Linked DNA regions of Homo sapiens: regions 2, 3, 4, 5, 6 and 7 are each linked to region 1. The links are contacts of gene promoters, found by promoter capture Hi-C in blood cells and fetal thymus (Javierre and others, 2016). All regions are on one chromosome and are shown on one strand. Each heading gives the region's core, a stretch centred on a gene start or on the middle of the fragment in contact. The rest is flanking DNA. Distances are from core to core; before and after follow the strand shown. Region 1 holds the start of GPR37 (G protein-coupled receptor 37). Region 2 has its middle 34 kb from the start of HYAL4. Region 3 holds the start of SPAM1 (sperm adhesion molecule 1). Region 4 has its middle 35 kb from the start of TMEM229A. Region 5 overlaps LOC124901741 (a long non-coding RNA gene). Region 6 has its middle 81 kb from the start of TMEM229A. Region 7 has its middle 97 kb from the start of TMEM229A.

The links. Contacts are between HindIII fragments. The CHiCAGO score rates a contact against its expected background, and 5 or more counts as called.
Region 2: a fragment that was not itself captured here is called in contact with the fragment with the promoter of GPR37 in region 1 in 1 of 17 cell types (M1 macrophages); the score reaches 5.7 in M1 macrophages.
Region 3: the fragment with the promoter of SPAM1 here is called in contact with the fragment with the promoter of GPR37 in region 1 in 1 of 17 cell types (erythroblasts); the score reaches 6.6 in erythroblasts.
Region 4: a contact is called between a fragment that was not itself captured here and the fragment with the promoter of GPR37 in region 1, in 1 of 17 cell types (endothelial precursors). The highest score is 6.0, in endothelial precursors.
Region 5: a contact is called between a fragment that was not itself captured here and the fragment with the promoter of GPR37 in region 1, in 2 of 17 cell types (endothelial precursors and M2 macrophages). The highest score is 6.4, in endothelial precursors.
Region 6: a fragment that was not itself captured here is called in contact with the fragment with the promoter of GPR37 in region 1 in 1 of 17 cell types (endothelial precursors); the score reaches 5.7 in endothelial precursors.
Region 7: a fragment that was not itself captured here is called in contact with the fragment with the promoter of GPR37 in region 1 in 2 of 17 cell types (endothelial precursors and M2 macrophages); the score reaches 6.2 in endothelial precursors.

Annotation. Positions count from the first base shown.
Region 1 is chr7:124,764,005-124,767,971 of GRCh38, forward strand. GPR37 (G protein-coupled receptor 37) reads right to left here and starts at 1,788. Exons shown (of 2, transcript NM_005302.5): 1 at 1-1,788. The coding sequence starts at 972. RefSeq lists a silencer at 1,800-1,929. The HindIII fragment of the contact is 5,609 bases long and covers 1-3,967 here.
Region 2 is chr7:123,808,906-123,812,872 of GRCh38, forward strand. It overlaps a transcript of HYAL4 not described here. Among named protein-coding and RNA genes, the nearest start is that of HYAL4, 34 kb to the right of the region's middle. The HindIII fragment of the contact is 210 bases long and covers 2,022-2,231 here.
Region 3 is chr7:123,923,125-123,927,091 of GRCh38, forward strand. SPAM1 (sperm adhesion molecule 1) reads left to right here and starts at 2,117. Exons shown (of 5, transcript NM_153189.3): 1 at 2,117-2,228. The HindIII fragment of the contact is 1,344 bases long and covers 896-2,239 here.
Region 4 is chr7:124,066,232-124,070,198 of GRCh38, forward strand. No RefSeq gene overlaps it. Among named protein-coding and RNA genes, the nearest start is that of TMEM229A, 35 kb to the left of the region's middle. The HindIII fragment of the contact is 3,517 bases long and covers 460-3,967 here.
Region 5 is chr7:124,084,115-124,088,081 of GRCh38, forward strand. All of the region lies in intron 1 of LOC124901741 (a long non-coding RNA gene), which reads left to right. Among named protein-coding and RNA genes, the nearest start is that of TMEM229A, 53 kb to the left of the region's middle. The HindIII fragment of the contact is 3,771 bases long and covers 272-3,967 here.
Region 6 is chr7:124,112,497-124,116,463 of GRCh38, forward strand. No RefSeq gene overlaps it. Among named protein-coding and RNA genes, the nearest start is that of TMEM229A, 81 kb to the left of the region's middle. The HindIII fragment of the contact is 3,920 bases long and covers 1-3,667 here.
Region 7 is chr7:124,128,430-124,132,396 of GRCh38, forward strand. No RefSeq gene overlaps it. Among named protein-coding and RNA genes, the nearest start is that of TMEM229A, 97 kb to the left of the region's middle. The HindIII fragment of the contact is 2,581 bases long and covers 639-3,219 here.

The sequences.
Region 1 (3,967 bases), core at 538-3,037:
GGTCAGCTCGTGGAAGATGACCAGCGGAAGGCAGAAGAAGATGATGAGAAAGTCCCAGAAGGCCAGGTTGGCCAAGAGGGAGTTGGAGATGCTCCGCATGTAGTAGTTGTGGCACACGATGCACATCACCGCCAGGTTGCCAATGATGCCGGTCCCGAAGATCACCACGGACAGACACATGACCGCGTAGGCTCCATAGGACTCCTGGGTCAGCGGGTAGAAGGGGTTCTTCAGTCTCACACGCCGGTTCGTGCTGTTTCCCCGGCGGGGACCCCCAGGCTCATGGATTCCTTCACCCAAGGATCCATTCTGGGCCAGCGCCCGGCCCGGGAGTGCAATTGTCCACCCTTCGTGCCCCGCCAGTCCATTGGCCGTCTTGGACAGGGGCTTGTGGTGGGAACCCTGGAGTTTCCCGGCTCTCCTTGGCCAGTAAAAAAGATCGCTGGCTCCGGGGACTGTCTTCACACTCTGCTCCTGGCTACGCCCGGAAATGCCAGCGCCTCTGGGACCCTTCTCTTCCTCCTCTGAGATCTGAAGGAAGAGCTGGAGGGCCGTGGGGTTCCCTCTCCCCAAAGTTTCAGAAGGCTCCTGACCCCGAGCACCTTTCCACCTCCAGGGGCCAGGTGGCCTGGTTGGAGGTCCCGGGGGTCCGGCTGCCGACGCCTCCGCCCCTCTGCCTGCAGCCGGGTCACGGCCCGGGGCCGCCGGCAGGTCCCAGGAGGGTCCCGCAAGAAACGCTGCCCCCTGCTCCTCCCTGGGTGCTCGGGCTCGCAGAACGTCTCTTGCAGAATTTCCCGGTCCCCAGGCGTCCCTGCCGCGGCGCTGGATCACTGTAGGTGCACAGCTCTCCCCCAGACAAGTTTCGTTTCTGGACGCAGGGGCGACCCCGAGGGCAGAAGAGGCAGACACCTTGAGCAGTAGCAGAAGCAGTAGCCGCGACATGCGGGCGAGAAGCGCGCCCGGGGCTCGCATGGCTTGGTGAGGGCACACCCGGCAGCCGCAGCTCCTGCTTAGTTAGGATCGACACCTGCTGCCGAAGTTGCTGCTGAGAGTTAGGCACATGTCACATACTCACCCCCGCCCGGGTAGCGGGGAACCGGAGATTAGGGTGATAGCGGAAGATCGGTCTTGGGGGTCACACACACGCCCCCTATAATCCTTCCTCCTTTGGCATCTTGTGCATTTCTCAGCCAAGTTGAGTCCCAGCAAGGTATGCCCTCCAAGGTTCCTAGAGGGAATAGGCTACTCCCGGTGGCTGACCTTGAAAAGTTGCAATCAACACCTGACTGTTGATTACTGTTGAGACTCGGGGGAGCCCAGACGAAGCCCCACACTCCTCACTGCCTTTGGGTGGGGGTGGTGGCCTTCTTGGTAACAGTTGCTCTGCCTATTTACATCCTTTCGACAGCGTTTGATCCAGTTGCAAGCCGAGGTCTCTAGAGGAAAAGAAAAACAAGTCCCCCTCCCCCAGACGACTCGCAGTCACAACCCCGCTCCCAGCTCGCTGGAAACACGTTGCAAACAGTCCGAAGCAGCGCTGATGCGCCGGCGAAACTCTTGCCCCACCTAACCCCAGCGACTTGCGAGCCTACTGCTGCCGAGGAGAAGCGGGATTCCAACCCCGCGGCCACTGCCAAAGTTGCTTCTCCTCCAGCTCAAAGTTGACGACGGGGCGAAGCAGGCTGCTGGACGGCGTGCCGCCGCAGAGAAGGAAATCGTGGGGAGAAGGGGGAGAAGAGGGCGCCGCTCGTCGGTGGACAGTGCCGCTAGCCGCGGGAGCTAGTCACTGCCACAGCGGGCTCAGCCCGGACGGGAAGGGTGGTGCCTGGAACCGCCGCGGGCCAGGCAGTGCGCGGCCGGGAAGGGGAGGTGGCCCGGCCTCGCCCCCGCGCTCCAGCCGCTGCGCGCGCCCGCGAAGCTCGACTCTCGGCTCGTTGCCTCCTCCCACTCCTTCGCCTCCTCCTCGGAGAGATACTGGTTTGTGGGGAGACGGGATCCCCTGGTGGTTCACCACTCACTAAACCCACACACGTTTCATTCAAGCCATTTGTAGCGGCTTCCACTCGGAGGAGCTGGGAGGGAACAAGGGCGGAGGCGCGGAGCCTGCGCGGCTCGAGGCTAGGGATGGGCGGGACAGGTTAATTCCCCAGCTGTCGAAACCAGCCTGACAGGTCCCCGAGCCCGGGCTAGGGGCGGGTGCGGGGCGGGAGTGGGGGGTGGGGGTGGGAACGGGAATATGAGAGCGGTCGGGGGAGGGAAGAGAGGAGGGTAGCAGGGGAGTGAGCAGCAGGGTCCCCTCCAATCTGTTGCGGCTGATGCGCATGCCCAGGTCTCAGCTCTGGGGGGCGAGGGGCGGGGCGGGGGAGGGGCGGACGGGGGTTGGGCCGCGGGGAGTAAGAAGGTGAAACCTCACCTCCTCAGGTATTCCCTAGAGATAGGAGAGAATGGGAGCTCAGAGGTGTCAGTCATAGAGAATTACCAGTTCCAGGATTGAGATGCAGAGCGAGAAAGCTCAGGATGCACCATTACCTTTAACACTGAGTTGGGAAGCATCCTACCATGGGTTACTTCGTACCACCCAGAGCATAGTGAGGTAGTTGTATTTGATGAAGTAGTGGGAAATGACTGGAGGCAGAAAATTACTCGAACAGCACTCCCAGCACGGCTGTCCATGCCTTTCCAACCTTTCTACTATATCCCACAACCCTGTCAAAACTGTCAGGGCATAGCTAATAAAATAGACAAATTAATGAAGAGAAAATGATAGAGGAAGAAATAAACACATTCTGAATTTTTTTTTTAAACAGAGTCTTGCTGTGTCGCCCAGGCTGGAGTGCAGTGGTGCGATCTCGACTCACTGCAACCTCCGCCTCCCCGGGTTCAAGCGATTCTCCTGCCTCAGCCTCCCAAGTAGCTGAGACTACAGGCACCCGCCACCATGCCCGGCTAATTTTTTTTGTATTTTTAGCAGAGACGGGGTTTCACTATGTTGGCCAGGCTGGTCTTGAGCTCCTGACCTCGTGATCCGCCCGCCTCGGCCTCCCAAAGCGCTGGCATTACAGGCGTGAGCCATCACACCCGGCCTGAATTTTTTTAAAGCAACACATCTAGAGAGGCAGGAGAAAACACAATGGAACATATGATACCAATTGTGGTAAATAGAATAATGCCCCCCCAAAAAAATGTCCGAATCCTAATTCCTAATACCTGTGAGTATGTTACCTTACAGAGCAAAAGGGATTTTGCCAATGCAATTCAGCTAAGACTCTTGAGATGGGGAGAGTATCGTGATTATCCAGGTGGGTACACTATAATCACAAGAGCCCTTACAAATGAGAGGCAGGAGGGTCAGAGTAAAAACAAACACAAGCCAAGTGATGTGGGCAATCTCTGGAAGCTAGAATGGGCATAAAAAAGGATCTACTAGCCCATTTGAGACTTCTGACCTCCATAACTGTAAGATAATGAATGTGTGTTGTTTTAAGCCACAAAATTTATGGTTATTTGTTGCAGTAGCAATAGTAAACTAATACACCATTAAATCTAAAAATGGAGACAACAGGAATAATTGTATAGAAAAACATAAACTACCAAAAATAGTTCAAGAAGAAAATTTTCAGAAACTGTAATCGAACTATAACATTAAAGAAATCAAATCATTCATCAAGATCTACCCAGAGGAAAGTGCTAGACCTTAGCATATCCTGCGGAATAAATATACATTTATACAAAATGTTTTAAAGCTACTCAGTTCATTTTGTGAAGGCAGAATAACCTTAATGTCAAAATCAGACAAAGCCAGAAATAGGAAAAAATATAAGCTAATAGCACACATTCATTTGTACATTAATTCATTCATTTATATACACTAACTCATTCTCTCAAATTCACTACTTCATTAAAGAAATATTCTGCTCAAGTTACTTAGGTCAGAGCAGTGAATAAAATAAAGTTCTGCTCTCACTGA
Region 2 (3,967 bases), core at 877-3,376, 950 kb before region 1:
CATTCATGAGGGCGGAGCCTTCCAAATCATCTCCCAAAGGCCCAATTGTTAATATAATCACATTAGAGATTAGGTTTCAACATATGAATTTTGAGGGGACACAAATATTCAGACCATAGTACCACTGACAAGAAGGAGGATATAATTGGAACTGATTATTCATCTCCCTTGAAGAATCCATCAGAACTCATTCCATCATGCCTTTAACACATGAAGTCCAAATTCCCAAATTATTATTTGTCTTTTGTGTGTTCTTCTTTACACTCTCTAATGGAGCCAAGATCATGCCACTCCCTGACCCTGAAAACCTGTCCATTATGTTCTTTGTAACTTAAAATCTCCAATCAAGAGAATCCCCTAGATCAAATACATCTTCTCTGAGTTTCTCTGTATTTTCTTGCTGTAATAGAAAACTGGCTGTCCTCCAAGTGCACTGCGTGCACTGCTTCCCTTGCAGCAGTATTCTTTCTTTCTTTTTTTTCTTCTTCTTTTTTTTTTTTTTTTTTTTGAGACAGAGTCTGACTCCGTTGCCCAGGCTGGAGTGCTGTGGCGTGATCTCGGCTCACTGCAACCTCCACCTCCCAGGCTCAAGTGATCCTCCTACCTCAGCCTCCCGAGTAGCTGGGACTATAGGCATGCACCATCATGCCTGGCTAATTTTTGTATTCTTTTTTGTAGAGACAGGGTTTCGCCTTGTTGCCCAGACTGGTTCAGAATTCCTGGCCTCCAGTGTTCTGCCCCCTTCAGCCTCCTAAAGTGCTGGTATTACTTGTGTGAGCCACTGCCCCCAGCATTTGCAACATTCTTTCTTGCATTAAGTACATTCATATCATTGTAGCCATCACCACCATCCATCTCTAGGACCTTTTCTTCTGCATCTCTCTTACCTGCTAGTTGTGTTCTCTCTCACCTGTCACATCCCACTGGACAGGGAGGGAGCAAGTGTCCCTTCCATTAACAATTTATTGAACAGCCCCAGTTGATTGAAGCATATGCCATCAGATCAAACTGAAGAGCAGACTAAACCCCTCAAAGTTATAGTCACCTACAGATCCTTAGTCTCAACAACCAGATTTTAGCACTTCAGTCACTAATTAGGTTTATAAAATTAAATTCAAAGTTTAGTAAAAGTTAACTCTTTTTTCGTTCTTCTGGATTAAATCTGATGGAAGAAAATCTGCCAGGAGAAAAGACAAGGAGTGTTTCACTTCTTCTCTATCCCTTGCCAAGTGCTTTTCCCCAAATACTAGGTTGCTTCTGGTTCCTGCATGGTTGAAGTGTGGGTATCAGTGGCTGCAAGAGAAGCAGCAAATGTTTACTTGACAGGTGTCAATCTGAAATTGGCTCTTTAAAGCTGACTTTCTTCTTGTGAGGGGTTTCATGGCAAAATGAATGAAAAAGTTGAAAGACAACAAGAAACTGGAAAAAAAAAACCCGTGTTACTTCATACTATAATATTTGGTGTAATTACCATAATATAGTTCACAATATATTTAAGAAACTCCTTGTTGGTCACATAGATGTTGTTTCTAGGATTTTCTATTACAAACATAGTAGCAGTGAATGCAATTGCATCTATAACTTTCTTCATTCAAGTAGACTTTACTTTTCAGAGCACTTTTAGGTTCCTAGCAAAATTGAGCAGAAAGTAGAGAGACTTGTTGTATACTCCCTTCTCCCTGACATCACAACCTTCCCTGCTATTGACATGTCCCACCAGAGTGGTACATTTATTATAACTGATGAACCTACATGGACATGTTCTTATTATCCAATGCCTATAGTTTACATTAGGGTTCACTCTTCGTGTTGTGCATTCTATGGCTTTTGACAAATGTATAACGGCATGTATCCACCATTAAAGTATTACACAGAATAGTTCCACTGCTCTCCAAATCCACTGTGTTCCACCTATTCATCTGTCCCTCTCCCCAACCCTTGGCAACCACTAAATTTTTTTATTGTCTCCATATTTTTTCTTTTCCAGAATGTCATGTATAGTTGGAATTGTACAATTTGTAAGCTTTACAGATAGTTTATTTCACTTAGTAAGATGCTTACTTAATTCTCTTAGTAATATTAAGTTTACTCCACATCATTTCAGTGCTTGATGGCTCATTTCTTCTTAGCACTGAATAATATTCCATTATCTGGATGTACCACAGTTCATTTATCTACTCACCTACTGAAGGACATTTTGGTTGCTTACAGATTTTGGCAATTATGAATAAAGCTTCTATAAACATTCTTGTGCAGATTTTTGTGTGGGTGTAAGTTTCCAAGTTGGTTGGGTAAATGCCAAGGAGCATAATGATTGGATTGTATGGTAAGAGTATATGTAATTTTGTGAGAAATTGCCAAACTGTCTTGCAAAATAGCTGTAGCATTTTGCATTCCAATTGGCAATGTATGAGAGTTTCCTGTTGCTACACATCCTCACCAACATTTGGAGTTGGAATTGTTCTGGATTTGGGCCATTCATTAATAGGCATGTAGTGGTGTCTCATTGCTGTTTTAATTTGCAATTCTCTAAGGACATATAATGTTGAGCATCTTTTCATATCTGTATATCTTCTTTGATGAGATGTCTGTTCAAGCCTTTTGCTCATTTTTAAATCTGTTGTTCATTTTCTTGTTGTTGAAATTTAAGAGATTTTGTATATTTTAGATAACACTTCTTTGTTAGATATGTCTTTTGCAAATATTTTCTCTTAGTCTGTGGCTTGTCTTCTCATTTTCTTAACAGTGTCTTTCACAGATGAGATGTTTTTAATGAAATCCAGTTTGTCAACTATTTCTTTCATGGATTGTGCCTTTAGTATTGTATCTAAAAAGTCATCTGCTTGTCTAAGGTAATCTAAATTTTCTCCTATATTATTTTCTAGGAGTTTTATAGTTTTATATTTTACATCTAAGTATTTATACCTTTTTTGTTGTTGTTGTTGTTGTTGTCGGAGAGGGAGTCTCACTCTGTCACCCAGGCTGGAGTGCGGTGGCACAATCTCAGCTCACTGCAACCTCCATCTACCAGGTTCAAGTGATTCTCCTGCCTCAGCCTCCTGAGTAGCTGTGATTACAGGTGCACACCACCACACGTGGCTAATTTTTGTATTTTTAGTAGAGATGGGGTTTCACCATGTTGGCCAGGCTGGTCTCAAACTCCTGACCTCGTGATCTGCCTGCCTCGGCCTCCCAAAGTGCTGGGAATACAGGTGTGAGCCACTGCGTCTGGCTGGTATCTATACCTTTTTACAATGTGTGGAATTATGTTGCTTTCCCCACTGCTTCACTAGACCTGGCTACTTGCCTGAAACATATCAGATTTGTTGAACAAAAATTCAAGTGTATGTGTGTATATATGTATGCATGTATTAGTATATATATTTTATAAGTGGAAAAATGTAGATCTAGTTTTATATTTTGAATAATAAAAATAGCTAGAAAAAATAAAATCTCAGCAGCATGTAGAAAGAATTCATTATATTTAAAAATGCATACCATTATAATGCATATTTTTGTTACTGTAGTAGAAGTCTGTTATAAAATGTAGACTAGGGACCAAAATAATGCCAAAATAATTTTTCCATAGGCTAGCTAGAAAAATAGATGATTGTGTATCATTTATATACATGGAAAACATAATGAAAATCTCCTAGAAGAGGAAATTTGTAACAGTATTTTACTAAAGTACAATATTTTGTATTTTTAGGCCCTTTGGCTCTAAAAAATTTATTGTGATATGACATTTTAAAAAGGTGTTTTTTGTTCCCAAGGGTGTCAGTTTATTAGGCATATATATACGCAATGTGCAGTCATGACCAGAGGGAGGTAAAGAATAATATTTATGGAGAGTAGATATTCTTTCATTTTCCCTGAACAACAAATAAAGAATGAAGAAGATTTGCCTTTATATTTTTGTGGGGGAGTGGGAGTCAAATTAAGATCCCATGATTAGAGAAGAGTGATG
Region 3 (3,967 bases), core at 867-3,366, 840 kb before region 1:
CCTTCATTTCCCCCATCTGAAACTTTACCATAAGTTTCTCATAATAAAATCTGAATTAGTGGCTGTGGAGAGAAGAATCAGTTTAGCAGCTGAGTGATAGATCTTCAAAAGAAGAATATGTAGATCAGAATGAGAATAAATAAGCAGAAAAGTGCAAATCTAAGCACATTTCTCCATATCCCATTAAACCAATCTCCCAACTCTGGGAATAGGTCAGTCTAATCAAATGGTTGAGCCTCATTATCTTATGGAGAATATTAATCTTTTTTGTTCAAAGGTATAAATCAGATAACGTTTGTCCCAACTGATTCACAAAGAGGCAGCATTTTCATCAACCACACAAGATAGAATGACCAGTGTTGTTCATGAACAAAAAGTGGAACCTGTAATTCCCAAGATCTAGTGTGTTCCACAACTTTTGTTATTGGTCATATTGATGTCTCCACACCTTCATTTTCACGTGCCTCTGTCAGTTTGTAGAAGCAGAAAATGTTGTGAAACATTTGACATAGGAGAACTGCAATCTGGCTTTGGCAGCTAAAAGGCTTGATTTTGTCACCTGACCAAGTTAATCCAGATTTTTGATCTATTTATATACAATTTCTGGTGCTAAGGAGCCTAATCAGGAGAGCAGCCGAGCTATCCCACCCAGGTTGTGCAAGAGTGGCCTATGAACCAGCCAACACATTTGGTGATTTGGCAAAAGTTTGTGCTATAAAAGGTAGTTCTAGAATCACTTATTGTCACCGGATAGAAAGTCCTGACTGTGAGTTTTCCAGGTTCTTGGAGTGTTGAACAAAGAATTGAACAAAACGCACAAACAAAGCAACAAAAGAACGAAGCAACAAAAGCACAGATTTATTGAAGTGAAAGTAGCCTCCACAGAGTAGGAGCAAGCTTGAGCAAGTGGCTCAAGAGCCTGACTGCAATGTTCTTCAGGGTTTTAAATTAAACTAAAAGAATTTGGTTAACACCCCTAGGTACCCTTTAGAGACCTCCAATTGGTTACACCCTACGCAAATGAAGGATTGACCTGTGACCAATCAGACACTGAAGTGGAGGCTTGGTTTGAGACCAATCAGAGGCTGAAGTGGAGGCTTGGCCTGTGACCAATCAGAAGCTGAAGTGGAGGTTGGCCTGCAACCAATCAGAGGCTGAAGTGGAGGCTTGGGCCACAACCAGTCAGAGGCATTTCTCGTTCGTGAGGTAGGGGAGGAGGGTTTTGTAGAGGTCAGGAACTCTGGTCCCTTTTCACCTGGGCATGGAGAGGTGGGGTTTTCCTTTTGGTCCAATTCCAAGAAGTCAGCCAATTTGTCCTCAGGCTCCCTGTCTCCCAACCCTATTCTCCTGCCTCATTATGACCTCCATGATGGGTTTGAGGATGTGGTGTATGGAGTCAAACTACAGGGTTTGATTGCAATATTGTCTTGGATTGTTACTTGGGAAGAGATCAGTACCATATTTGTTTTTAATTGGAAAAGTCTTTTTCTTCCAATGTCTTTATTTGAGCAAGGGACAATTCTTGAGCTTACATAGAGGTTTTTCCTTGCCCAGTGAACTCACCAGAAGGAAAAGTAGAGTGACATTGTTTTTCTGACCATGGATACCATACTCTTTCATTCATTTATCTTCCATAGTTGGTCCACCTGGTACCCCATGGACAGGAATAAAAACTAATTCAGGTTTGTTCATGCTATCAGATGTTGACATAAGCAATAATTATATTGTTTAGCTGACATGACCAAGGTTTGGGAAACTGGTGCAAGGGTGGTGTCAGGTTTGTGTTTAACCTATGAAGAAAAGAGTGAGGTTAATATGAAAGAGGCAGCATTTGAAAGAAAGCCCACAGTGGAGGATCAGAGAGAGAATAGGATAGATTGAGACAAGTAATCTCCAGTCAGCTTCTCAATAAATGGGAGGTTTTGTTGAAAAAGATCCCCCCTCTACTCCCCTCCCCACACCAGGGAGGAAAGAAACTTAAAGGGGGAAAATAGATGAAAGCAAAGTTTTTTATCTGTGATCTTGAGGAAAGCTGTTTGCTTTGTGGTGTCATCTTGCTTCTAGAGCCTTGGCTCTGAAATCCTTACTATGAGGTCACCTGTAGGGATGGTCTTCCAGTTGTCCTGAGAGTGATGACTGGCTCCACCTTGATGTGGCTCACATAAATTCAGAAAGTATGATAGCAGTGTAGGTGGTTAGCAGCACCTCATAAGGTCCTTCCTAGCAAGGTAACAGTACAAGCTTTTTCTAAAAATCTTGATGTATACCTGATCTCCTGGTTGAAAGAGTTGGCTTGATGGATTTTTTCCTATAAGTTCTTTTTATGTCTAGATTTTTATGTTCCACTTGACCTGATGATTGAGGATGGTATGAAGTAAGAAGTTTTAATGAGTAATCCAGAGATTTTGTGAGTGAGTGGTTTATTTCTACTAAAAAATGAGTTCCTTGGTCTGATTCAATCTATAAAGAAATGCCAAAATGAGGAATAACCTCAGTCGTTAATTTCTTTACCACTATCATGGTGTTGCATGAACCTGGCAGATGGCGGTTTTAGTGAGCCGAGATCATGCCACTACACTCCATCCTGGGTGACAGAGTGAGACTCTGTCACAAAAAAAAAAAAAAAGGCATTACAATGGAGGGATTGGTTAATAAGACCTGTGTATAGGTGGTCTGCTACTGTGTTGCGAGGTGCTGTGTCTTATTAAGTCATAAGAGAATGGACACAGAATGGGAGAATGGGGAACGTGGAGGTAAAGGAGGGAACCTAATGTAAGAATACTGAATTTGCCAATTAAGGCACCAGCTGTGACTACTTCATACAGGAATGGGGACATGCCTGATGCCATAGGGTCTAATTGACTTGAGAATGTGAAAGGAAAATAAAAACTCAGAACCCCAATTCATCATGCCAAAAGGAAAAAAAAATTAAGCTGAAATGTGAGTTGTGCAAGAAACTGCCTTTTCTCTTGTTCCTAAGCAGATAGCTAGAGATAAAATGTTAACTCCACAGGTAGTTACTCTGTGTTCACCTTATCTTATGTAAAGTGCAGATTTACTGAGCACTGGATGAATACATAATTGACTATTCCCCTACCTACTTCTTTTCCCTTGCAACATGTGGATTATCATACCCTCCTTCTTTCCCCGCCGGCCTGCTTTTCCCCTTTAAATACCGAGGCCCTCAAATTCATTTTTAGAAAAAGGCACGGACCACAGACTGTTTCTGTGACTCCATGTTTATTTGTTCTGGGCTTATCCTTAACTTTGGCAAAATAAACTTCTAAATTGATTGAGACCTGTCTCTGATACTTTTTGGTTTACCAGAAATATAGTATAGGACATACCTGTTGATGAAAAGAGTCAAACTCTGTAAAATATTTGAAGAGAATTATTCTGAGCCAAATATGAGTGATTATGGCCCCGTGACACAGCCCTTAGGAGGTCCTGAGAACATGTGTCCAAGGTGGTCGGGGTACAGTTTGGTTTTATGTGTTTTAGGAAGGCATGAGACATTAGTCAAATACGTTTAAGAAATACATTGGTTTGGTTTAGAAAGGCGGGACAACTCAGAGTGGGGGCTTCTAGCTTATAGATAAGTTTAAAGATTTTCTGGCTGACAATTGGTTGAGGTTGTCTGAAGACCTGGGATCGATAGAAAGGAATGTTCAGGTTAAAGATAAAGGATTATGGAGACCAAGTTTTATTGTGCAGAGGAAGCTCTTAGATAGGAGATTTTAGAGAGACCAGGTTGTAAATAGTTTTTTTATAGGACTTAAAAGTGTGCCTGGCTCTTAGTTGATTATCTTCTGGATCTGGGAAGGAAGGAAAGAAAACAAAGGGGAAGGGGATTCTCTATAGGATGTGGATTCTTCCCATGAGACACTGCAGGGCAATTTTAAGGTATGGCAAGGAAATAGATCTTGGGGTTAAATATTTTTTTCCTTGTCTCATAATATTATGCCAG
Region 4 (3,967 bases), core at 968-3,467, 700 kb before region 1:
AAGGTGCACTGGCTGCAGCAATGCCTGCATCAACTTAATGAACAAAATGCCTGCATATTCACCTTCACCTTCCAAATCTCACACAAATTTCCAACCTTCAGCTGGAACCACTCTAGGAAGGGAACTCTTGGAAACATAGGTTCAGCTTGCTAAATTGACAAAATACAAATACCACTACTCAGCTCTTTCAAAATATGCCGAGACATGAATAATAATTATTCTATGAATATGCATTTAGTGAACACTTCTATGTGCTAGAGACTGCTAGACAGAAATCATAGACAAAGAATAGTTTACTCTCACTGAGCTTACAGTAAACCTCAGTCAGATGCGACATTTTCATGTACCTAGGGTTTTCTTGGTGCATGAATCTGACTGAGTGCCTGGCATTCATTCAGATGATATTTGAGTAGTCACTGTTAAGTATGCCTGTTGAGTTGGCGTTTCATACTCTTATGAAGCTTATATTCTATCAATCAATACATATCTATTGGATAAATGAATGATGGGTGAGTAAAGGTATGAGTTAATATGGATGCAAAATGAAGGTATATTTAATGCAGACTGAATGGTCTAGGGAAGGTTTCCTGGTGAAGCTGAATTTTGAAGGGCTGGTAGTAACCAGTGTTCAAGAGGTAGGATTGGATGAAGATGGAGCAGCTTGGAAAAATTTACAGAAGCCCCCACTTGCCCCCCACACAGAAGTGTAATAAATTTGAGGAATTACAGATTTGTTGGGAAAGAGAAGGATTAGAGGAAGCTGGTGATGTAATCATAAATGAGATCATGAAGAGATCAAGATGCCATTGTTTATCTGGAAAACAATGGCAGTCACTGAAAGACTTTAAAAATGTCAACAATAACTTTGGATATGTACTTAAAATTTTAATATTTTATTATTAGATTAAAACATACAATGAATTTACAATGCACTTTTTTCTAAAGTACTTTTAACTCCTTTAGCTCTTTCTTAGGTAGTTATTACTGCATCTTCAAATGAAATGTTTATAATTTTGAATTTAAGTTTGGATATTATCCATTTACTTCCTGTAGTAAAAGCTGGTGATTTGTAGTTTTAGAGCAGTCTTGTCATCCTTCACTTACCCTCTCAACATAGTTATATAATTTTTTCATTTAAATTACCAAACAGCCCTTCAATGACTGTAGAGAAGTAACTAACTTCCCATGGTTGGACACTTCCCATGGTGAGGAGCAAAGCCAGGACTGCCAGTGTTTTGGCATGGTGTGTGTTTTGCATACACATCCTTCCAACTTATCCCCATGATTTTCAGTCCATGTTTCACTCTTACCTTCCACCATACCTGACAATTCCTTTTCTGAGCTCTTAGGGGTCCTGGAAAGGCAAATTGATTTCTTTCTTATCCAGAAAACACTGGCTTGTCTTCTTTCCTGTAATCCATGTTGGCATGAGTTCATTCTTTAAAAAGTAAGTCACTTGCTTTCAATTTTCTGCACTATTAAGAGAGAGGATATGACCATGTAGTTTTCAATTTACATCTTTAAGCACGATGCCAGGCATATTTCAGGAAACTCATTCTAAAAACACTGTGGAAAGTAGGTTCAAAGGAGATAAGAGTGAAGACTGTTACAGTATTCTAATTGATAACTGATTAGAGCCTGAACTAAGATTATGCCATGAGGGATGGGGTGAAGAAAAAGGGAGGGATCAAAGAACTGCTAATGAGGTAGAAGCCATGGTCTATGTCCTGTTCTGATTTTGTGGTGTGAGAGAGGGGTCAAACATAATTCTGCAGTTCCTTTCCTCAGCATTACAAATGATGATCTTACTCAACAAGGCAGAAATACAGTAGAAGAAGTGAAGCAATTTTTAAAATATTACTTTGGGAGAGATGAGTTAACTTTTGGACATATTGAGTTTGATATTTCTATTGGCTGTCCATATGGACATATTGGTGGAAAGTTAGAGTTTGTAGCCAGAGAGGATAGTATTAAAAATCTGCAGTTTTGGAGTGAAAGAGTTCTGTGGTCAATACAATTCAGAAAATAGAAAATTAAAATCTCTAGATTTTAGGAGATTAAGAAACTGTGAGTCTAGGACTTTCAGCTGTTGGATGAGTCATACAAATGGACATGAAAGTTGTACAACATGATGTTGGAATATTGTGAGTTACTGGTGCCAGAACCATCCAAGTTAAGTCTTGACCAATGGCAGTATATGGCAGAGAATAGGAGCTGGATAACTTGCCTCAAAGAGGAGAGATTTGTTTGCTTTTATTAGAGGAGCGTAGAAAGGAAATTATTCAAAACTGGCATGCTAGGAGAATGCCACCTCTTGTCTAGTAGATAATCTATTTTGTCTTTCTTTGGAGATCTGAACTTCATGTGGTCTTGGAGGAATAGTCCATTTTGGTGTGTAGTTCCTCATGTCAGTGGAATATTTATCATATGCTAGGCTGGGCCAATAGTACAATATGCCCCATAGGTTGTGATTGGACTGAAGAATAGTTTTGTAACCCAAGCTATTTCAACTAGAATCCTTTTGCATTGTAGATGCACTCCTCAAGAGGAGGATAAAGATGATGTGATTCTGATGTTAGCAGCAGCCATATTGCCCATTGCCTAGAAGACTGCAAAAGAATCTTGAGAAAATTAATTCAAGCAGAAACAAGTGTAGGTGATAGCTGAAATTTAGAGGCATATTTATATTTGTTTGTGCCTTTGAGAATATTCCTCTTTCTTCTCTCCAGTTGTGTAAGTCCATAAATAACTTTTAAACTTTTTTTCTTAAGCTAGATTTGAATTTGGATCTCTATTGTCAACCAAAGACTGTTAACTAATATACCTCTTTCTGCACCCCACCATCATGAACTTGGGTCATGTGAATTATGAGATAAAAAATAGCCTCCATTAGAAGACTGTAGAGAGAGGGAGATCCTCCAAAGAAAGTCAAATTTTAGTTAAGACAAGAAGCTATAAAGAGCTTGTTTACAATAAAACAGGGTTTTAGAGGCCAGGATTGAAAGTGATGGAAGAGTGGGGAGTGTGAGAAGCAGGGTGACAGCAAAGGAAACACTGAATAGAGAAGAGCTTAAGAATAGGAAGTCATTTTGAAATGATTAAAGGGTTGTCACTATACATTTTATACCTTATAAGTAAGGTATAAAATAACAGTCATTTTTACAACTATATACATAATAAAATTTAGTTCAGATGTTATCAAAAATACCTACTTATGTGAGGTATCTAAAGTAGTCAAATTCATAGAAACAGAAAGTAGAATGATGGTTACCAGGGGCTTGGAGGAGGGAAAAATGGGGAGTTGTTTAATGAGCATAAAATTTCAGTTTTGCAAGATGAGAAAGTTTTGGAGATCTGTTGTTCAACAATGTGAATATTCTTAACACAACTGAAATGTATACCTTAAAATGGTTAAGATGGTAAATTTTGTGTTATGTGTTATTTTAACCTAAATTTAAAAAATTAGTTCAACTAATATAATTTGCATAACACCATGAAGAGTTAAAATGTGGGAATGTATCTAGAATACCAATGAAATGAAGGTACATTTTCAGAACAGGCACAATGTTACTGAATATCCCGGTGTAGATGCGGTTTCTGCCTCAGGAAGGTAAAATCTAAATTGGAGATGGTGACTGATCAAAGGTCAGGAAGGAGTCTGAAGAGAAAATATCACACTTAATAACTACCTTATGCTTTAGTAGAATGATATACAACAGAGAATTTGGGCTCACTTTGGAATTGCAATGAAGGGGAAAGAAAGGAACGATTGAATGGAATAAAAATAAACCAAGCAGCTCCTGTGTGGAGAATGATTACATCTTTAGTGTAATTTTCTCTGTAATGGAGGGGCCTTTAGCAAAACCCAGGAGGAAATTTTAGAGGTGATATGCTGGATGTGAAGGAGTCTGACTGCTAATCTTGCCAAGGGTCTCAGAATGTGTGTATTTTTTGCTGGTATATATTT
Region 5 (3,967 bases), core at 907-3,406, 680 kb before region 1:
TCTTGTTACAGATGTGATCTGTCAGCCATCCAGATAGATTTCCACTAGAAGAGGAAGAAGCTGTCTTCTCTGCTTCCTTCCTCCCTGCTCGCAAAGTAGAGATGCTATCTATAACCTTTTATGCTGGCCAGCCTGGAGCTCTTCCTGTTAAAACTCATGTACTTTAAAGTTCCACACTCATCTGGTATTTCTCAGCCTCAGTAATTAGGTCAGTGTTTAAATATAGAGCCACACATTATTTAAAATGTTGAGAAGCTTTGGAGCAATGTCAAGCTTCATCTCCATAAAGTGTTCTTACTAGTTTTTATTAACACTGTTTGGATATTATCATTTTAAATTTTCTCAGTGCTTGTATATTCAATTTGTACAATATATATGTCTGCTCATATGTTATCTCGGAGTCTTGGAGCTATTTTTTCTTTATTTCCAGGTATGTTTCTTTGACCATTTTAGCTGATCATTTTTCTGAAGAATTTCGAGTCCTTCCAACTAGATTAATGAATGTGGGTAATGTACTTAGCTTTTCTAAATTTTTTTTTTTTTAATTTTTGAGACAGAATCTCACTCTGCCACTTAGGCTGGACTGCAGTGGTGCAATCTCGGCTCAATGCAACCTCTGCCTCCTGGGTTCAAGCAATTCTCGTGCCTCAGCCCCCTGAGTAGCTGGAATTGGAGGCATGCACCACCACATCTGGCTAATTTTTTCTTTTTTTTTGTATTTTTAGTAGAGACGGGGTTTTGCCATGTTGGCCAGGCTGGTCTCAAACTCCTGACCTCAAGTGATCTGTCCGCCTTGTCCTCCCAAAGTGCTGCGATTACAGACATGAGCCACTGTGCCCAGCCCTAAATTCTTAATGTCCTCATCTCTGCAATGGGAATACTCCCATTACCTGCCTCACAGAATTGTCCTGAGGATTGTATGTTCTCAGCATATTTCTTGGCACATGGCAGGAATCAAGCACATATTGACCTTCCAAACTCCTTCATTTCTTTTCTTTCTTGCCTTTCTCTCTCACAGCACCTATAGCTGAATCGCCTTTGGTAGATGCATCTTTCTACCCAATTCTCATTGAGTGAATCGATGTTACAATGGGCAGATTAAAGTGGAGACTTGTTTTGCATGGTAACATTGAAAACTGTGTATGTGACTTGGGAGGAATTGTTGTTCATGGGTCAGCTGACTAGTTATATTATGCAGTCTTTCAGATAACACAATGAATTATTAATCCACATTAGAGAGTTGAAGGCTGGAGCCCTGGATTCCTGCCCAGAGAACGACTCTGACACATTATAGGCATATGGTTGCCTGGCTGGAACAATGACTTTTTGTACACGTGCCAAAGGAAACTTTACGATGCCTGTTGACATTCTGTCCTTTCTTTGTTTCTCCATTATTGGATGACTTTGCTGCTCTATTCTTTTTTTTTTTTTTCCTTTTCTGTTTGGATACATTTTATCCTAACTTATGCCCAATAAAACATTACTGAGAACATGAACAAGATAAAGGAGCTAGTATGTCTTGTTAGTTAGTTTCATTATGTGTTGAAGCTAAAGCCTTCAAAGGACTGTGTATGATTAGGGCTTCACAACTATTTATTTAAAGCCTTATTTTGTCTCTGTTCATGTTTATAGAATATGAAATACTCAGTAAGGCAGACTTAGTACATATATGAAGTCTGTGTAATCTCAGGGCTTCAGGAAGACTCTACCTGTTCTCCCATACAACAAATTCTGCCACTCAGCTGCTGCAGGACTGCCTTCCACATATACATGGTTTGAATTTCCTAATTCTGAAATTCTCAGTGGGTTGTATCAATGATAAGTATTTGTATCTTTAGTGCTGCCTGAGTTCAAGACATGATGATATAGTTTGGCTATGTCCCCACCCAAATCTCCATGTGAATTGTTTCTCCCAGAATTCCCACATGTTGTGGGAGGGAGAAGATGGGGGGTGGGGCAGTAATTGAATCATGGGGTCCAGTCCTTCCCCTGCTGTTCTCGTGATAGTGAATAAGTCTCACGAGATCTGATGGGTTTATCAGGGGTTTCCGCTTTTGCTTCTTCCTCATGCTTTTAATCTTGGTGCCATCATGTAAGAAGTGCCTTTCACCTCTCACCATGATTCTGAGGCCTCCCCAGAGATGTGGAACTGTAAGTCCAATTAAACCTCTCTTTCTTCTCAGTCTCAAGTATGTCTTTATCAGCAGCATGAAAATGGACTAATACACATGATTAGTGATCTAATTTTAGGATCAAAGGTTAGAAAGCTGCATTAATCTTCTCAAATATGCCTATATATTAATATGTTTGTTAAAATCGATGATACTTTTTCAGAAAATATTTTCTATTAAGTAAAGTAGGCAACAGGATTTAAGTTATAAGAGTATACCTATTGACCATTAAAGTGAATTCAGGTATTTTCAGACTAAATGAAAAAATAAAAGGACCTTGTAAATGTTTTTTTTTGTTTTTTTTTTCCCGAAATAATCCCATATGCTGTTTGCTAGCCATGGAGTTAAAATGATAACAGGTTGGGTATTACTCTAGGAAAGCCACAGTAGAACCACATACAGATGGGACAGTTGATTTAGGTTCCTTCCTGAGCACATTAGCTTGATAAATGGATCAGATTTGTGAGCTACCACTTTAGACGAATAGAGGATCAGGTAAAAGGGAGCTTCAGTGGGGAAGGAGTGATCCTAGGAAGGAGGATCATAGCAGAGAAGGGTTTAGGTGGTAAGGACCTGGGAGGGGTAACTGGAAGGTAGCAGAAATGAACGAGACTGATTTTACTTAGTCACAGTTATACGAAGGGCATGGACCCCTGCAACAGAGAAGTCCCAGCTGCTAGAAATTGGCAGTTGGTGGTATACTAGCATAGCAGGAAGGAAACTTATCTGGGAGGCAGGAATTATGGTTTGATCTGGGCTCTGCATTAATCAATTTGTGGTTTTGAATAATCTATGATTTCAGATAAGCCCTCATTTCATCAGTTATGAAATAATGGAGTCATACCATTTAAACCATCTGTTGTACCAGTAACATTATGATTCTAAGATTAGCTAATTCTTGTACTATCTTCCCTGTGTGTAATGGGAACATTTCTCAAGTCCCTAGGTAGAGCTGAGAAAAATATACATTGTTGTCTTCTGAAAATTATCAAATTTACTTTCAACTTCTGACTTTGTGTTTTCAAGTTAACTAGTACTTCTATGCCTATTTGCTTCTCTACTTTTTCATTGATGAGAAATGATTTGACAGCATTACACATCGTTTATAATTATTTTCAGAAACACACTAAAAATCTTTCAAACTGACATGTTCAATAATTTAAAAATGTCTAGCCAATATGTTTTTAAAAAGCCTGTTAACTCATTTTTACTGTGTATTACTTTATACTCAAAAAAATATAACTCCTGTTTTCACTAAAAGTATTGATAGAAAACAAGTGGCACAATATTATACAGGATATCTCAACATAATATCTTTAATATGTTTTTTCTTTCTTATGGTTATTAAATTGGTTGTACTTTCTGTTAGTTTGGTTTTTACCAACATTAAGAATTCATATGCAGTCATGTGTTACTTACTGACAGGGATATATTCTGAGAAACGTGTCCTTCGGTGATTTAGTCATAGTGTGAACATCATAGAGTGCACTTAGACTCAGATGGTGTAGCCTACTACATACCTAAGCTATATGGTGTAGCCTATTATGCTTAGACTAAAAATCTGTGTAGCATGTTACTGTACTGAGTACCATAGGCAACTGTAACACAATGGTAGGTACTTATGTCTCTAAACATATCTAAATATAGAAAAGGGACAGTAAAAATATGGCATAAGTGATAAAATAATGGTACACCTCTATAGGGGACTTACCATAAACTGAGATTGCAGGACTGGAAGTTGCTCTGGGTGAGTCAGTGAGTGAGTGGTGAATGAATGTGAAGGCATAGGATATTAC
Region 6 (3,967 bases), core at 458-2,957, 650 kb before region 1:
AAGTGCATTATAGGACCACCTAAATGGGATTTTCTACAGCATAAATATTAAACTGGAAAAAAATAGATCTTTATTAGTATTGTGGACCTCTTTAACTAGAACAGCCTTAGATTGTACAACCAATTTAAAGGGATGTACTCAGTACTGCTTTATCAGCTCTTATAAAGCCAGAAGCTCTTTAAAAACTAAGGAATTGCAAGGCAGGAGGTATAAGGCTCAAAATTCCAAGTTTAAAATTCTCCCAGCTGGATTTTTTGAGGTAAAAAGTGTCATTGCTGTCATAATACAATGTCAGCCCAAGCCTATCTTCAGGATCTTAACCCTGCCTTTGTGCTTTAGGAGGGTTGTACCATGACCTTCATTTCAGAACCGATGAACTGCTCTAGGGAATCTTTATCCCGTTTAATGTTGTCTCTAGATCACCAAATCCATATCCCTGAGACACCTAAGGGCTGATGAAGGAGCCATAAGATATGAACCAGATTAAAAACTCATACATTCTGGTACCAGAAACTACAGTTGAGATATTCATAGTGTAAAAGAAAAATAGCACTGATGCTTTTCAAAAATGGCAAGATGATTTTATTTAAGACTATTGAAAAAGGGGTCAAAACTATTGCAATAGAGAAAAAGTCTGCTAAAAAAAAAAGACAGGAGACTTTTAAGCACTGGAGTGTAGTGAGAAAGCACTGGAGGACATAGGAGGAAGTTGGTCATGTGATTAGGTCATTTATGTTTGTCAGTCGGTGCTTATTGAAGTTAAGCTCCTACCACCTCCCACAGAGTCTGGGGGATAGGAGTGCTAATTTTTTTCCTTTAATTATTACCTTTCTGGGAGAAGATTTACATCTTAAAGATACAGAGAAAAAATTTACAATGGTAAGTTTCCTAAAGTAAATTTTCTAGGGAAAAGGAGGTCAGAAACAAACCTGTCTAAAATTAAGACAAGCTGAGGGGATTGTTAAAGCTCTTTTCATCAACAACATAGGAGAGTCTCTAACGAACCATGAAAGCATCCAGGAGAGAATAAATTTTAAATCCTTGCCAGGCACAGAGAGTGAGAAGACAGTACCAAGTACTAGTCAATTAAGAACTTCCTACCCCCTTTCTTCTCCCTCTCTTTACCTAAACACTCAGGTTTCAAAAATTTAAGAAGAGAGAGGAAAAGGGAAAAGAAAAGGAGGAAGAAGAAAGAAGAAATGTTCTATACTGCCTTCCTGACTACAGTTTTCTACAGACTCCAGCTGTGGAAAAAAAGGAAAAGGCTTAATGTTTAATCAAGGTGGCGATCATATGGAACTGAACATTTTTAAATAGTTGATGGGAGTTTTGCGTTTTGTCAGAATGAACAGGAAAATCAAGGGACCTCTGGAGAGTTTCTGTCCAGAGGCAGAGTGATCAATAGTATAGTGGGAGACTAAATAAATGTTCTTTATTAATTAATTCATCACATTAGTTAGAGTGTAATTATAGAATTATAAACTCAGTGTACATGTGGGTAAATAAAAACAAATATTGACTGAGACAGTGTCCATTTTGAGGAGTTTCAGATAGAACTACAATACTGGACAATGAAAGCACGTCAGATAGAAGGAGGATAATTGTGTTCAAGAGTACCTATGTCTTTGTTTCTTCAGGAACAGGACAGAAATGTTGATAGAAAAAAGCAAGCATTTTAAACAAAACACCAGAAACACAAATTGTTAGTAAAAAGATTGATAAACACAATTACTTAAAAAATTTGAAATTCAGTCCTCAAAAGTCACCATGAAAAATGAGAAAAGACAAGCAATAGAGTAGAAAAGATATTTGTAATACAAATATCAATAAAGTATTGAACTTAGAATATATAAAGAACTTCTACAACTCAAATAACAAAGGAATAAATGATTTAATAGAGAAAAGGGGCAAAAACAGACACAAAAATATGTGATCTCATATATGAAATCCAAAAAAGTTAAGCTCATAGAAACAGAGAATAGAATGGTGGTTACCAGAGGATGGGGTATGGGGTGGGGACGGTGGGGAGATGTTTGTCAAATGATACAAAATTTTAGTTAGAAAAAATACGTTGAGGTCTATTGTACAACATGTTGACTATAGTTAAGAACAATGTATTATATTCTTGAAAATTGCAAAGAGTAAATTTTAAGTGTTCTTACCACAAAAAAGGATGAGGATGTGAAATAATGCATATGGTTACATGCTGTAATTAACATTCTTACTATTAGTGAAATTAGCATAAATACTTTAAGAAATAATTTGGTAAAATTTAATAAAATTATACATGTGCTTATCTATATCAGGTTTTATTACAATCACGCTCTTAAACAAGCAATCCTGTAACAACAGATGCAGTCAGTAGTCTGTCCACATAGCCTCTTGGATTTTCTTACCATTTCTGTGCCTCCCAGCTGTACACCTGACTTCTGACAACCACCACATGCATCTTTGTTAGAGAGTTGCCCTTATGCTTCCAAAACCCACTTTATCCAAATCCACCGTGAGCCAGAAGTGTTTAGGAATTAATATCTATCCACAGGCTCCTGTTACCCAATAATTTGACAACTATGAGATTAAACATACCTTATGTCTATCTTCCCTTGACTGGGAAAATTCTGATGTATGTGTTTTCTATTCTTTCTCAAGAGCTTCACTATGGGGTAAGCTGTAGTTATGTACAGTGAAAACTGGTTAAATAATGTATCGGTTCCTGTACAATTTGCATCCCCTTAATTTTCTTCTTTTGTCTGATTGCTCTGGCTAGGACTTCTAGTACTATGCTGAATAAAAGTGGTGAAAGTGGAATTATCCTTGTTTGTAGATAATATGACATTATCGTTAGAAAAACCTAAAGACTCCAAAAAAAAACCCACTATTAGAAATGATAAATTCAGTGAAGTTGAAGAGAAACCAAGAAAATAATCCCATTTACTAGAAATAAAATAAAATACCTAGGAATAAATTTAACAAAAGAAGTGAAAACTCTCTATAATGAAAACTATAAAACATTAATAAAAGGAATTGAAGAGGACACCCAAAAATGGAAAGAAATTCCATGTTCACAGATTAAAATAATTAATATTGTTAAAATGTCTGTAATCCCCAATCTACAGATTCAATGCATTCCCTATGAAAATGGCATTTTTTAAGAAATAGGAAAAGTAATTCTAAAATTTTTATGTAACCACAAAAGACCCAGAATAGCCAAAGTAATCCTGAGCAAAAAGAACCCAGCTTGAGAGATCACATTACCTGACTTTAAATTATATTACAAAGCTATAGTAACCAAACCAGCATGGTACTGGCATTAAAAACAGACACACACAGACCAAGAGAACAAGACAACCCAGAAAAAAACCACATATTTACAGTGAACTCATTTTTGACAAAGGTACCAAGAGCATACACTGGGGAAAGAACAGTCTCTTCAATAAATGATGGTGGAAAAACTGGATATTCATATGAAGAAGAATGAAACTGGACCCCTATCTCTCACAATTAATAAAAATAAAAAAATGAATTAAAGACTTAAATCTAAAATCTACTAGAAAAAAAACACTGGGGAAATGCTCACATTGATCTGGGCAAAAAATTCTTGAATAAGACCACAAAAGAACAGACCACCAAAGCAAAAATGGACAAATGGGATCACATCAGGTTAAAAAGCTTCAGCACAGCAAAAGAAACAGTGAAAAAAGTGAAGAGACAATCCACATAATGGGAGAAAATATTTACAAATTATCCATCTGACAAGGGATTAATATCAATAATATAGGAAAAGCTCAAACAACTCAACAACAACAAAACAAATAATTTGATTAAAAACTGGGCAAAAAATCTGAATAGGTATTCCTCAAAAGAAGACATGCAATTGATTGATAAGTATATGAAAAATTCTCAATATCACTAGGCATCAGAGAAATGCAAATCAAAACTGCAATGAGATATTATCTCACCCCCATTA
Region 7 (3,967 bases), core at 679-3,178, 640 kb before region 1:
CTATGCTTTTATCTAAATTTATGAAAAAATAGTCACAGAATTTGATGTGATATACTGATTTTTTTACTCAGGTTTTTAGTTTCCCACAACTCAAAGAAAAATAGACTTAAACTTTTTAGAGATTCAAATGTGAATGACTAAGAGGAGAAAATTGTGATGGTTGGGGAATGAGCAAGTGAGGTAGAATTTTTTCTCCTATATTTCCACCTACTTTCAATTTTGTTCTGTCTCGGTTGTGAGCAGAGATCTAAGAAATAAAGAGATGGCACAAAAATGATGGAAATCTTGTAACTTGGACTCAGTATTAACAAACTGTGTGACTTGTACCTTTTGTCTTTGTTTTCTCCATTTTAAAAATTATGGAACTGCATGAAATGCTCTCTAGTATCCTTCATGGCTTGACTAGCCTATGATTCTACTATTCATCAGGTAAGTTAGTACCCTGAAAATGAATAGACTCACAAAACAATAAGGGAAAAGGTTGAAGTTCCCATATAACACTGTGAAATACCTGCCTAGACTATGAAGCCAAACTGAAAAACAGTTCAAAAATTGTACCTTAAGATTTTAAGAAAAGGAAGGGAAAGGGAGTGTGTACTTCATGCAAAGCTTCAGTTGCAAAATATTTTAAATCTTCAAGCTTGGTATGCACTGCTTACTAAATTATAATTGCCTACAAAAAGAAATTTGAGATGAGCAAACTAAATATTTGTATTTATAATACTGAATAATAACACAAGCACAAAAACATTTTAGTATTCTAGAAGTCAGGATCCAATAACTGAAGATGAGAAATTCTTGGGTCTTGTAGGCAAGCAAATTATTTTAGCCTAACTTCTCCTGTTTCAAGAGCAAGTCCCTGAAGATGTAGAGAAAAATAAATTATTTCAATCTTTTTTACTTGGAATCCCCCCCTCCCCTCCTCCCCACACACAAATACGAGGTCAGAATTGCCATACATTTCTAAACTGGTGAAATTCCAATTAATGCTCTGTTTTATTTTTCACTAGGCAGGTTCTAAATGATAAATGTTTATGAGCTTAGGCCTAATATTTGAAAAAATCTGCTATAATAAGCAGTCCAATATGTGCCAGAAACTTATAAGGAAAAATAATGAAGTCAATGAAGTGAAAAAGAAAAATGAATTAGTAGAAAATAGGGGATACATAATGCATCAAAACATTCCCATATAGAAATGCATCATATATTACCTTGTCATATTTAAGCAGTTGTAAATATTTTTAAGGAGATCTCCCCTAGAATTTGCATAGGAACTTATATTCTCTATAACAAGAAAAGCAACTGAGCACAAGAGATGTAATTTTATGTTTATCTCTATCTTTGTCCTTACTTAAAACAAATCACAGTCAAAAGAGAGGTAGCAGAGTAAAACCTCCTAAAATGCAGAAGGTCTAAAGTTGGAAGCTAGGGAAAATAGCAGGAAAGGATACTGCAAAAATATAATTAAAAAAATAAACGTAAGACTTTGTACTGTTAAGAATTCAAAGGAATTTCTGGTAAGCAAGATTGAGAGCTTGTTACTACTGGAGTGGCGTTTGATATTTTGGTGACTTTCAATTCAATGTCACATGGTACAACAATGGCATCAGCAGCTGATGTGTTTGGTCCTCTGGCTGTTGGTAATCTATACTTCTTTTCTCAGGAAAAAAGCACTTGTAAGGTTAATAATCTAATTTAATGTAATATAAGGGAAAGGTTAATAATGTCCAATATCTTCTGAAGATAGTTTGGCTTGTCAAACAGTTATGTGGACATTAAAAGAGAAGGTTAATGCGCACTGTTCCAGTTTCATTCTGAAGAAGCAAGAGCCAACTCTGGGTTAGACAGGGGAACTTTACAAGGATTCTCTCATTTATTCCTGTCAACAATGGTATGATGTAGACTTTATCATTATTCCCATTTTATGGATAAGAAAATTAAAACTTGGTGAGGTTAAATAGCTTATCTGATGCAAATGCTATAGTTGGGTCTGAACCCAGTGAAATTATTCCAGATTCCCAACATACTATCCTGTGTCAGATGCTGTGAAAAAACAAACAAACAAACAACAACAACAACAAACCCGCACTGGACATTTGTTAAAAATGGCAGAGAAGACTTTAAGACTATTGCATCAAAACTTAAGACTATTGCAATAGGGGAGAAAGATTGAACTCAGCTCTGAATACAATACGGACATGCAAGGATTTATACCCAATGGGTAGAGTGAGAGAGTGAATGGAAAATTACTAATAGGAGCTTGGTTTAATATAAAGGGTGGACGAGGAGAGGAACTTAATTAGGCATCAAGGTGGAGGAAAGAGCTTGCCTGAAATATCAATGGTAGGGGAGATAATTGACAAACTATTTTATCAGGATTCTTTGCTGAAGCTGAGCTCAGCAGGTGAAGGAAGGGGAACAGGGATGAGGCCTGGTGAAAAAAAAAACAGTTAAATGAACTTGTCTTGGTCAAGGAGAGAGTTTCTGTCAAAGTTAGAGTTCAGAATGGGAAAAACACAAATATATAATTGTGAGGTTATTTTGTATGATAATAGGCTTTAGAAAACTCTGGGTCCTCATTTCCCCAGTGGTCCTTCTTGTCCTGATAAATTACTCATACTCGCAGGAAACCCTGACATATCAGTACTCATTTTGACATGCGAGAGGGACGTAAGGAAAAATAATGTGAAAATGTTCTATTTTTTTCATTGCATAGTTTAATATTTCTTTCATTTAGGTACAACCTAATTCTCTGGATTTTGTGTCTCTTTCACACTTTCCACTCTCCTCCCCATGTAACTCAATCTGTTTTGTTTTTAGGCTGTTTTCAAAATAGAGAAAAAAGAAAATTTACTCTTGTTTTTTTTAAACGTAGAGTTACATTTTCAACTTTATTTTTAAATCATAATTAGGTTCTTAAAATGTTTAGTTATCCTACTTTCTTAAAATGCAAGTGCTATAGCAAAAGATAAATATATTCAACTATTTTAGGATATATACAACCTTAAGTTATCTGTGAAAGCCAGATGAGTTCTGGAGACATTGGTATGCAAGATCATGCCCCTGAGACTATTTGTTTTCCAAAGCTCCTTCATAGCATCCAGTCCTCAAACAACAAACATTCTTTTGCTATTGAAACTGGTTCAGAACAGAACAGAAAGAACAAGGCTTGCTGGTTGAAGCATTGGAGGTAAGCCGACCATTTGCTTCACAAAGCAAAGCTTCACCCTACCTCTTCAAGGCGCTTTCATCTGAAAACTGGATTTGGAACCAAGTAGAAACAAGCTCTCTCCAGTGGGATTCATCACTTCCTGATTTCAGATGGGCACAAACAATAGACTCTTGTATTTTCCTGCTATTCACGTTTTTAGTCAGGTCTGAAACTGAAGGTGTGCTTAAATAATGATGGCTTATACACATTTCTTTTTCTCCAACCTGGGATTCAGAGTCATACTTTCCCAGATAAAGGTGATACTGTTTTTCAGGTCAGTTCACTCAAAGATGGTGCAAAATAATATGAGGAAAAAGTCCTTCATAATGAGACAGATAATTGGAAGCATACAGTCTCTGCTGATCCTTTCAATGCCCTGTAATTTTTTTTTCTTGATTTTTAAAAGATGTGGATTTCTTTTCTGAGGGCAGGGTATAGGGAGGAGAGCTCTTTGGTTGTCCAAATGCTATTAAAATCAGATAATTTCATCTATGTGACTTTCAGGAAGCCATTTGTTTCCCATATTCTCATTTGTGTTTAATTAACAAAGACTGCAATTGTTTACACCTATACACACTAGAAGTTTGAAAGTAGTGCTGCTAATCATCAATGTGACACTTTCATCTCCATTGCTTTTTAAGGATGGTCAGTCTCTTTTGAAATGGAAATAAAAAAATACGAACTAAAACTAAAGCTACACACAAGTGCTGTTTTTGCCTCCAAATCTTCATAAATGTAAAACCCCATTATTGATCT